Regions from separate parts of the Homo sapiens genome. Here region 2 is linked to region 1. Evidence: promoter capture Hi-C in 16 types of primary human blood cells and fetal thymus (Javierre and others, 2016). All regions are on one chromosome and are shown on one strand. Each heading gives the region's core, a stretch centred on a gene start or on the middle of the fragment in contact. The rest is flanking DNA. Distances are from core to core; before and after follow the strand shown. Region 1 holds the start of RAB11FIP1 (RAB11 family interacting protein 1). Region 2 overlaps FGFR1 (fibroblast growth factor receptor 1).

The links. The method cuts DNA at HindIII sites, captures the fragments that hold promoters and counts their contacts. A CHiCAGO score of 5 or more calls a contact.
Region 2: a fragment that was not itself captured here is called in contact with the fragment with the promoter of RAB11FIP1 in region 1 in 1 of 17 cell types (neutrophils); the score reaches 5.4 in neutrophils.

What each region holds. Positions count from the first base shown.
Region 1 is chr8:37,896,385-37,901,738 of GRCh38, reverse strand. It overlaps RAB11FIP1 (RAB11 family interacting protein 1), which reads left to right and starts at 2,242. Exons shown (of 6, transcript NM_001002814.3): 1 at 2,242-2,668. The coding sequence starts at 2,298. RefSeq lists silencers at 1,978-2,207, 2,428-2,857 and an enhancer at 3,987-4,619. The HindIII fragment of the contact is 20,306 bases long and covers 1-5,354 here.
Region 2 is chr8:38,414,786-38,420,139 of GRCh38, reverse strand. It overlaps FGFR1 (fibroblast growth factor receptor 1), which reads left to right. Exons shown (of 18, transcript NM_023110.3): 9 at 405-607; 10 at 1,767-1,912; 11 at 2,149-2,270; 12 at 2,724-2,834; 13 at 4,080-4,270; 14 at 5,239-5,354. Among named protein-coding and RNA genes, the nearest start is that of LETM2, 31 kb to the right of the region's middle. RefSeq lists enhancers at 1-353, 1,214-1,977, 2,886-3,551, 3,992-4,762. The HindIII fragment of the contact is 8,773 bases long and covers 1-5,354 here.

The DNA.
Region 1 (5,354 bases), core at 993-3,492:
CCGAGGTGGGCAGATCACTTGAGGTCAGGAGTTCAAGACCAGCCTGGCCAACATGGTGAAACCCCATTTCTACTAAAAATACAAAAATTAGCGGGCATGGTGTCGTACATCTGTAATCCTAGCTACTTGGGAGGCTGAGGTACAAGAATCGCTTGAACTTGGGAGGCAGAGGTTGCAGTGAGCTAAGATTGCGCCATTGCACTCCAGCCTGGGAGACAGAGCAAGACTCTGTCTCCAAAAAGAAAAAAAAAAAAGAAAAAAAATATTTCCAACATACTAAACAGGCCTTTCTCACACTGCAGCTGCCCTCAGTTGCAAACCTGAGGCATACCTCTGTCTTCTAATTTCCTACGTGGTAAAAGGAAACACTTGGTCCTCATGGTTGGCCAACTTAACCTGCAAACTCTTGAGTTCAGTAGCACTTCCCGGGTACCTACTGTGCACCCAGGTTTGTGCTGGAGGCTGTGAAGGAGACAAGTTGAATAAGTCACTACCTGGTCCCTGCCCTCAGCAGGGCATAGGAAGTCAAACCTTGGAGAAATATGAGTGAACCCTTGCAGTGGGAGGTTGGCAAAGACAGTCAAGGGTACAACGTAAAGGCCTGGAAGTAAAAAGTGTCTGGGCTACAGGTTTGTTTGTTCGGGAGATAGAGGAGAATGAGGTAGGGTGGGGTCAAAATGGAGTACCTTGAAATCTCTGTTCAGTCCGAAGGTAACGCGGTTGCTGGTGAGGCAGCCAGCAGGTTAGTGAAGCAATGTGCAGTGTGAACCAGAGGGAGGAGAGCCTGGAGATTGGAGGGACACGAGTAGCCATCCAAGATTGGGGTTCTGTGGATCTGGAAGAATCAAGAGATGCACTGAACAGCTGTTTGGGAGTCAGGACACTGGGATCCCAGTCCCAGCTCTGCAGAGGGACCTTGGACATGTCACTCCTCTCTTCTGAGTCTTTCCTTAACTGTAAAACTTTAAAACCTTCCAAGTGACCTTTCCAATCTGATGACTCGTTAAACAGTTGAGCCTTTGAACTAGGACCTGTGAAATGAAGGGAAGCAGCCGATCTATTAGGCATTTGGAACAAGAAAGGGACTGCCTGGGAGCCCAGGGATAGAGGCAGGGAGAGACTAAAGAGGGCCTGGCAAGGGAGAAATGGGGAACTGCGGGCTGGGGGCCTGCCACTGTCCCGATGTTTGATTTGGCAATCCCATTTTCAGTTCCTCCTTTCTTCCCTTTTTCTAACTCAGCCTCGCCTTATCTGGTGGGGGGAGGGCAAAATAGGACACTCCCACATTGAACTCATGCTCCCCAGGATACCTTCCCCTTTTCCGGCCCTCACAAGGTCCTCACCTTCCTCTGCAGCTGCCTTCCTCCAGAGCAAGGCTTTCCAGCGGGAGAAGTAGAAAGCACAGTGAATTGGGTGGGCATCTTCCTTAGCACCCTCATAGTTACCAACTTTATTTTTTTGAGACAGGGTCTTGCTCTGTTGCCCAGGCTGGGAGTGCAGTGGCACGATCTCGGCTCACTGCACCTCGACCTCCTGGGCTCCAGAGATCCTCCAGACTCAGCCTCCCAAGTAGCGGGGACCACAGGCGCTTGCCACCACTCCTATCTAATTATTTTTAATTTTTTTTGTAGAGACGGGGATCTGGCTATGTTGCCCAGGCTGGTCTCGAACTCCTGGGCTCAGGAGATCCTCCTGTCTCAGCCTCCCAACGTGCTGGTCATGGTTATTTACTGAGAACTCACCATGAGCCAGGCACTGGGCCAAGAACTGTAATGCATTATTATTATTATTTTTTACAGCAATCCTAGGAGGTGATTGTCAGGTGAAGAAATTGAGACTTGATGTTAGGTAATCCGCGCAAGGCCACGACTGGCGATGTGACCCTGGAAATGAGGTCTGACTTCCAAGTCAGTGCTTCGGCCAGCTCCTTCCCGCCGTGCGACCTTTGGCAGCTGGGGACCCCATCCGTCACCTACCACCTCTCAGATTAGATTCTCGATGCGCCCGCCCCTGCGCACGTGATCCCCTGCCTGCCTGGCCGCGCCAGCCCCGCCTCCGGCGCCCGGGTGCCCGGAGCTGCCCGCGCTGCTGAGGCCGGCGGGGCGGGGCGGGGCGGGGCGGGGCGCGGCGCAGCAGGTGGAGCAGGCGGCTCGGGCAGGGGCGTGGCCTTGGCCATGAGGGGCGTGGCCTGGCGGGGGTGTGGCCGGAAGCCTTAAAGTGGCCTGGTCGCCGGGGCGGGCCGTGGAGGCCGCCAGTCGCGGCGATCTTCTCCTCGCTTCTGGAGTGTTATCGTCACCATGTCCCTAATGGTCTCGGCTGGCCGGGGCCTGGGGGCCGTGTGGTCCCCAACCCACGTGCAGGTGACGGTGCTGCAGGCGCGGGGCCTGCGGGCCAAGGGCCCCGGGGGCACGAGCGACGCGTACGCGGTGATCCAGGTGGGCAAGGAGAAGTACGCCACCTCCGTGTCGGAGCGCAGCCTGGGCGCGCCCGTGTGGCGCGAGGAGGCCACCTTCGAGCTGCCATCGCTGCTGTCCTCCGGACCCGCGGCCGCCGCCACCCTGCAGCTCACCGTGCTGCACCGCGCGCTGCTCGGCCTCGACAAGTTCCTGGGCCGCGCCGAGGTGGACCTGCGGGATCTGCACCGCGACCAGGGCCGCAGGAAGACGCAGTGAGTGCGGGCGGGGAGGGGAGGGCCCGGCCTGGGGGCGCGGACCCCTCCGGCAGGGCGGTCTGGGCGCTGGACCCTTCGAGAGTAAGCCGGGCAGCAGCGGGGAAGGCCTTTCGGGACGGAGCCCTCGGCCGGTGCTGGTGTTCTCACCTGGCTTCCCCTTCTGCGGCTGTCCCGCCCAGCTCTGCCAGCTTTGGGTCTTCTTGGAAGAAGGGGCCGTATCTGGGGCGCTTTTTTTTTTTTTTTTTTTAGACAGAGTCTCTGTCGCCCGGGCTGGAGTGCAATGGCAATGGCACGATCTCAGCTCACTGCAAACTTCGCCTCGCAGGTTCACGTGATTCTCCTGCCTCAGCCTCCCGAGTAGCTGGGATTACAGGCGCGCACCACCACGCCCGGCTAATTTTTTTTTTTTTTTTTTTGAGACTGAGTCTCACTCTGTCGCCAGGCTGCAGTGCAGTGGCACGATCTCGGCTCACTGCAACCTCCGCCTCCTGGGTTCAAGCGATTCTCCTGCCTGAGCCTCCCGAGTAGCTGGGACTACAGGCGTGCGCCACCACGCCCGGCTAATTTTTGTATTTTTAGTAGAGACGGGGTTTCATCAGATTGGCCAGGATGGTCTTGAACTATTGACCTCGTGATCCACCCACCTCGGCCTCCCAAAGTGCTGGGATTACACGCGTGAGCCACCGCGCCCGGCCCGCCCGGCTAATTTTTGTATTTTTAGTAGAGACGGGGTTTCACCGTGTTGGCCAGGCTGGTCTCGAATTTCTGACTTCAGGTGATCCGCCCACCTCGGCCTCCCAAAGTATTGGGATTACAGGCGTGAGCCACCGCGCCGGGCCTGGGGCGCTTTTGAATCTGCAGGACGCCCCTCAGCGTCTGGCACACAGTAAGCACTAAGTGAATTTTAGATGAATTCCAACTATACGTGGGCAGGTGCCTTCTTCTTACTAGGGTGGTAGCCCGTGTCTGATACTCGCCTTCGCTTGGGTGGAAGGCCTCCTGGGTATTTCACTGAATAGAAGAACACTTCGAGCCGAGAATGACTGGGCCAGGGCGCAGGGCAGAGGAACAGGAGGCATGAAACCAGCTGACACCCCCACCCTAAAGGCTAACCCCGGGCGCAACGCCTTTACAATGCGGGGTGGGTGGAGGTTGGGGGAGGGGAATGGCGTTTGCCGGCTGTCACATGACTTGCTAACCCCTTCCCCTACCTCATACTTGCCTAGGGGGTTGGTGAAGAGAATTTGCCCCTACAGAAAGAATGTTACAACAGTGTGGTGTGTGCCCTGGGCCCCATGTTAGTAAAGATTTCTCCAGGTTGGAAGGAGCCCGGGTGGGCCCTTGACGGAGCAGAACTGGGCATTGTTTCCTTTTGGAGTTGGTAGAGTTCTTCTCTCTGGTCCTAATCCTGGTGGATGTCTGCTCGCCTGTAGCTCCCAAAGATTGTGTCAGGTTATTTCACTTCTGCAGTAAAAACTGGGCAAAAACCATTCACTCCATGATATTACCGAATTATTTGTTTCACAGGTGTTCGGAAAGGGCAGTGCTTCACCCAAAGGAACGTTCGATTATGTTCATCTAGTATGCCAAAGCTAGCCTCGATTAGCTTAGCTGGTTACTTTGTTAGATCTTAAATACACAGGCCAGTCAGTTAGCACCGAAAGCCTATAGTCTAGGAATCACACTGATTTGCTTTGTGTGTTTTAGATATACATAGCCTTTTAACTTTCCCTTCTGTGGGAGACAGGAAAAGCCAGAGGGTTTGTCCTCTGGAGGCTCCCTTTACTGTGGGGTGGGTTCCATTTCAGCATGTAGGCTTGCAAATGGAATATTTGATGATGCAAACTTACCTGGCCAGAGATGAATAGGCATTTCTGAACTCACATCAGATAAAACTAGCCTTGATGTGAGGATGGATGGGGTATCTCACAGCATCAATTTACAAGCCATAAGGTGAGCAGTGTTTTTGCTAAGGAGGGGCTGCAGCAATGCTGATCTTCCATCTGATTAAATGACACTGGGGGTGGTGGGTTGGCTTCCCTTCAGCTTCAAATGGGTGCTGTTGGCCATCCGTTGTCTTGCGCCATCCCAACATGTGTGTATTCACTTCCTTCTCTGCCACCTGTTTCTTATGTGGACATTTTATCCCCTTGAGAGGTAGATCACATCTCCCTGCCAGAGATGGAGATTCCAGAGTCCTGGGTCCAGTGCCCACAGCAGCCCTGACTCATTGTTGGGCTTCTCTGTCCCTAAACACCCAAGTTTCTCTATTTGTAAATAGAGCATGTTGCCAGACTTAATTGATGTTTGTAAGATGTTTCTGGGTTCCTGGATTAATGGGGCCAATGTATCCAAGAAGTGATTGAAAAGGTTGGCAACTGCTTTGTGAGAGATTGAAACCTTGAGCTCTCTTTTTTTCAGGAAGAGTTCAGTCTCTGCATCTTCATTTTTCTTATTTTATCCAATGTAACCCTAAACCTATACAATAACTCCCACCTATTATGTGAACCGATTACCACCTAGTCACAGTATTGACTTCCAGGAAAATGGTGCTTAGTTGATTTTTTTTTCTTTCTTAAAATAACTGCAAAGGAAGGCTTCTTTGCATCTCTATGGGTAGATGAAATTTCCACTTTCCATCTACAACTTTCTGGGACTTTCCAAGGTGCCAAGGGTGCTGTCT
Region 2 (5,354 bases), core at 2,855-5,354, 520 kb before region 1:
AGTGCTGAGGCTTTGCAGAGAAGGGCCATGGCTCCCTGAGGAGACCAAGAAAGGCACATAGAAGTGACTTCTCAGCTGGCCCTTGCAGGATCCCTGGGTGCCTGTACCTCTCCAGTCCAGCTGAGCAAGGAGGCTCAGGAATTAATGAAGATGGGGCTTGTGTAGCACGATGGTTCTAGGCCATCCCTTTTCCATGGCTCAAGTCCATTGAAGGCAGCCTCCAAAATCAGGGGGTTGCCTGATCCTCCTAGTGCCACAATCCCAGTCCTAGCTAGAACTTGCCATGGTTCTTCTCCCTAAAAGTTCCCAGGGGACAGGAGACAGGTGTTGCTTTTCTAATGGAGCGGGACCTCGCATGGACGGGGCCCTCCAAGCCTGCTAACACCCTGTTCGCACTGACTCAGCCCTGGAAGAGAGGCCGGCAGTGATGACCTCGCCCCTGTACCTGGAGATCATCATCTATTGCACAGGGGCCTTCCTCATCTCCTGCATGGTGGGGTCGGTCATCGTCTACAAGATGAAGAGTGGTACCAAGAAGAGTGACTTCCACAGCCAGATGGCTGTGCACAAGCTGGCCAAGAGCATCCCTCTGCGCAGACAGGTAACAGAAAGTAGATGGGGGATTTGCACACTCAGCACCACCTCTCTCTCTGGGCCTCTAATGCCCTGCCCTCTCCATTGTCCCTAATTTATAGCTTTGGGCCTTATTTTCTGGCTTCTGGGCAAGGCACAGTGGAATATCATGAACTAAGTGCTCTAGAGTCTGTTTCAAGCTAGTGTAGCCCGTGAATTTCCTGCACCCTCCATATCACACTGCAAGTCCTCCGGACTCCTGGGACATGGATTGGGAGGAAGTCCTATTTGGACAGAATGTGCAGCCAATAGCATGAATTTGAACTGTCCCCAAGGGCTGCTTAGAAGTGCAGAGATGCAGGGTAGAGAAGAGAACTGTTTGTATTAGTCCATTTTCACACTGCTGAGAAAGACATACCCAAGACCGGGCAATTTACAAAAGAAAGAGGTTTAATGGACTCACAGTTCCACGTGGCTGGGGAGGCCTCACAATTGCAGAAGGCAAAAGGCACGTCTCACATGGCGGCAGACGAGAAGAGAGCTTGTACAGGGAAACTCCCCTTTATAAAATCATCAGATCTCGTGAGATTTATTCACTATCACAAGAACAGCACAGGGAAGACCTGCCCCCATGAGTCAATGACCTCCTACCAGGTCCCTCCCATAACACGTGGGAATTCAAGATGAGATTTGGGTGGGGACACAGCCAAACCATCTCAGCCATACCATACCCTTGTCCCCTGTGTGCCCACCCTTCCCCACGGGAGGAAATGGTACAGATGGCACAGGTGTGTGCAAGAATGACCGTTCCCTCAGAAGCCTGTGCTCATTCTGGAAGGTGCTTTGGGAGTTAGGAATCCATAAGCTAAGGCAAAGTATTTGCAAAGAGTCAGGAGAACAGAGTTGTTACTGCAATGATCAGTTATAAAATGTCAAGCTGGAAGAGGTGCATTTGGTCTGCTTATTTTAAAGGTGAGTGAAGTCCAGAAAGGCCAGCTTGTGGCAGAAATAGGTCAGTCCTAGAAGTTGGGCCTCCTGGCCTACCATGGTCTTTGGACCACTCTGTGTTGAGGAAAGAACATCAGATACACAGACATGTGCCTCTGCCATTGTTGGGAAGCCCTGACTAAGAATGGGAAGGAGTCACCCCGTCCCCCCTCCTTGCTCTAGGGTGACCCCACTCTTCCTTGCAGGTGTCTGCTGACTCCAGTGCATCCATGAACTCTGGGGTTCTTCTGGTTCGGCCATCACGGCTCTCCTCCAGTGGGACTCCCATGCTAGCAGGGGTCTCTGAGTATGAGCTTCCCGAAGACCCTCGCTGGGAGCTGCCTCGGGACAGGTAATAATACTTTGACTCCCAACTTTTTGAAGGCATTCCTTGCTTGCTATTCTAGTGGTGGAAGGTGTGTATACTAACACCTTCTGGGCGGTGAAGGTTCATGAAATGCCTGCAGAAACATTCATTCCACTTTCTGCTCGCAGTTGGGTGAAATACAGAGAGGTGGAGATGGGGTGCCTCTCAAGGTTTGAACTTCACCAGCCCCAACTTATGCCACTCTCTGTTTCCCCCGAAAGACTGGTCTTAGGCAAACCCCTGGGAGAGGGCTGCTTTGGGCAGGTGGTGTTGGCAGAGGCTATCGGGCTGGACAAGGACAAACCCAACCGTGTGACCAAAGTGGCTGTGAAGATGTTGAAGTGTAAGTGATGCTTCTGTCCTTGCAAAGAAAATCTTGTCCCATTCCAAGCAAACAGCAGGCCTCGGGCCCAGCAGAACAGCTTCTCTGGTGCCTTTGCTGCCCACACCTGCTCCGCTGCCTGCTTGGGGTTACCTGGGAGTGGAGGGGGTGTTCTGCACCTTGAGATTGTTCTATGACGTCACTCTGTTCCTTGGCGTCAACCTGGGCTGTGGTCAGGTGTTTATCCTGGATCCATCGCTTGCAGGCTTTCCTCACCACATCCCTGCCCACTCACTACCACCTATTGCAACAACGGCTCCCATGAGAGGGAAGAGAAAACAAGTTTGGATGAAGTGGGGAGGAGAGAATCAAGTCCCAGGGAAAAGCAGCCCCTCGACACATACCCCACTCCCTTAGCCTTTATCCTGCCCTCCTCCCTTCCCAAGTAAATGAGTCTCAACGTGTTCTTTAAAGCGGACGCAACAGAGAAAGACTTGTCAGACCTGATCTCAGAAATGGAGATGATGAAGATGATCGGGAAGCATAAGAATATCATCAACCTGCTGGGGGCCTGCACGCAGGATGGTGGGTGCCGGCCAGACTGGCTTTCCCTGCCCAGCGGGGAGAAGATCTGAGCTGGGGTATCAGTCCCAAGGCCTCTCTCAGCCACAGCTAGGGAAGGGGGTTAAGAGAGGCTGCTTTGGCAGAGGTTTAAAATGTGTTATCTCGGGATCTGGGCTCCGCTCATTGGTGTTCATTCAGGAATACAGATACCTAGATTCACACACGTGGTGTGTTAACAGAGGCAGCTGAGTAATTATGGTCTAAGAGCGCTCAGGCTGGGTGCAGTGGCTCATGCCTGTAATCCCAGCAATTTGGGAGGCCGAGGCAGGAAGATCACTTGAGATCAGGAGTTCGAGACCAGTCTGGTCAAAATGGTGAAACCCCATCTCTACTAAAAAATACAAAAGTTAGCCAGGCATGGTCACGCATGCCTATAATCCCAGCTACTCAGGAGGCTGACGCATAAGACTTGCTTGAACCCGGGAGGTGGAGGTTGCAGTGAGCCAAGATCACGCCATTGTACTCCAGCTTGGGAGATACTCCCGCTGTCTCAAAAATAAAATAAATAAATAGGCCAGGCACAGTGGCTCACGCCTGTAATCCCAGCACCTTGGGAGGGTGAGGCGGGTGGATCACTTGAGGTCAGGAGTTGGAGACCAGCCTGGCCAACAGGTGAAACCCCATCTCTACTAAAAATACAAAAAGTAGCCGGGCGTGGTGGCGCATGCCTGTAATTCCAGCTACTCGGGAGGCTGTGGCAGGAGAATCGTTTGAACACGGGAGGCGGAGGTTGCGGTTAGCCGAGATCGCGCCATTGCACTCCAGCTTGGGCAACGAGCAAAACTCCATCTCAAAAAAAAAAAAAAAAAAAAAAAAAATTAGCCAGGCATTGTTCATGCCTGTAATCCCAGCTGCTTGGGAGGCTGAGGCAGGAGAATCACTTGAATCCAGAAGGCAGAGGTTGCAGTGAGCCGAAATTGCGCCACTGCACTCCAGCCTGGGCAACAGAGTGAGACTCCATCTCAAAATAAACAGACAAACTGGGGCTCTTACCCCAATGTTGCTCGGGAATTTTCTGGACTATGCTGGGAGTAATTATTTCTCTGATTTTTTTTGGGTAGTAGAATGGATTTCCCAGGTCCCCTAAGAGGAGGCAGGAGATGGGAGGTTGGCCGGGGTGTGCTGCTGGGGGTGGGGTTTCTTTGAGGTGAAGCCAAACCTGCTCACCTGCTGCTGGCCCCATGGCCTCTTCTCCTGTGCCTGCAGGTCCCTTGTATGTCATCGTGGAGTATGCCTCCAAGGGCAACCTGCGGGAGTACCTGCAGGCCCGGAGGCCCCCAGGGCTGGAATACTGCTACAACCCCAGCCACAACCCAGAGGAGCAGCTCTCCTCCAAGGACCTGGTGTCCTGCGCCTACCAGGTGGCCCGAGGCATGGAGTATCTGGCCTCCAAGAAGGTGTGGAACCTGAAGGCTCCCCTGGGTAATGCCAGGGTGGGAACAGAGCCCCCCTAGTCTTCCAGCCTGTGACTTATCATCTTGTGGTGGCGTTGTGGATGCACTGAGCACTGGCCCTGTGTGCCCTGTGTGTTGTCTTAGGCTCTCTGGGAACTGCAGAGTCAGGAGCACCAGTGTAGCCAGGTGGCCTTGGGGTCAGACTGATGCAGGGTCCGATCTGTGCACTGCCACTTTCTGCGTAGCCTCAGGCAGCTACTTAGCATCTTAAAATTCTTCAAATACAAAATAATAATAATATCAGCTGGGTGCAGTGGCCAAGGCGGGAGGATTGCTTGAGCTCAGGAGTGTGAGACCAGGTTGGGCAATATATTGAAACCCCGTCTTTAAAAAAAAAAAAAAAATTAAAAAATTAGCTGGGTGTGGTAGTGCGTGCCGATAGTCCCAGCTACTCGGGAGGCTGAGGTGGGAGGCTAGCTTGAGCCCAAGAGTTTGAGGCTGCACTGAGCCATGATCACACCACTGCACCCCAGCCGGGGCGACAGAGCAAGGCCCTGTCTCAAAAGAAAATAAAGTATAACAATACCTGTTGTAGAATTGTTATGAAGATAAAATGAAACTGTCTGTGAGTGTTGAGTGCAGTGTTTGGTGTGTAAGGGCTGGCCTGGTTTGAGCCCAGCCCCATGTGGACTTGCTGTGCTGGGAGGCAGGACCTAGGAGCATGCATCGCTGCAGACGCAGCAGAGGCATAAGGGGCCAGTCTTTGGGGAAGGAAGGGAGGAGCGCTTGCTGTGATGAGAAGCCTGGAGCTGGCAGAGAATGTTAGAAGAGGGAAAGCAAAGGTTCGGGGGGCAGAGCAGTGTGGCAGAAGTTCTATGAGACAAGTCGGCTAGTTGCATGGGTGGCGGCCGCCCAGAGCCTTCCAGCTCCCTCACCTCCCCGCCTCCCGCTCTCCCTTCCTCCTTCCTCAGTGCATACACCGAGACCTGGCAGCCAGGAATGTCCTGGTGACAGAGGACAATGTGATGAAGATAGCAGACTTTGGCCTCGCACGGGACATTCACCACATCGACTACTATAAAAAGAC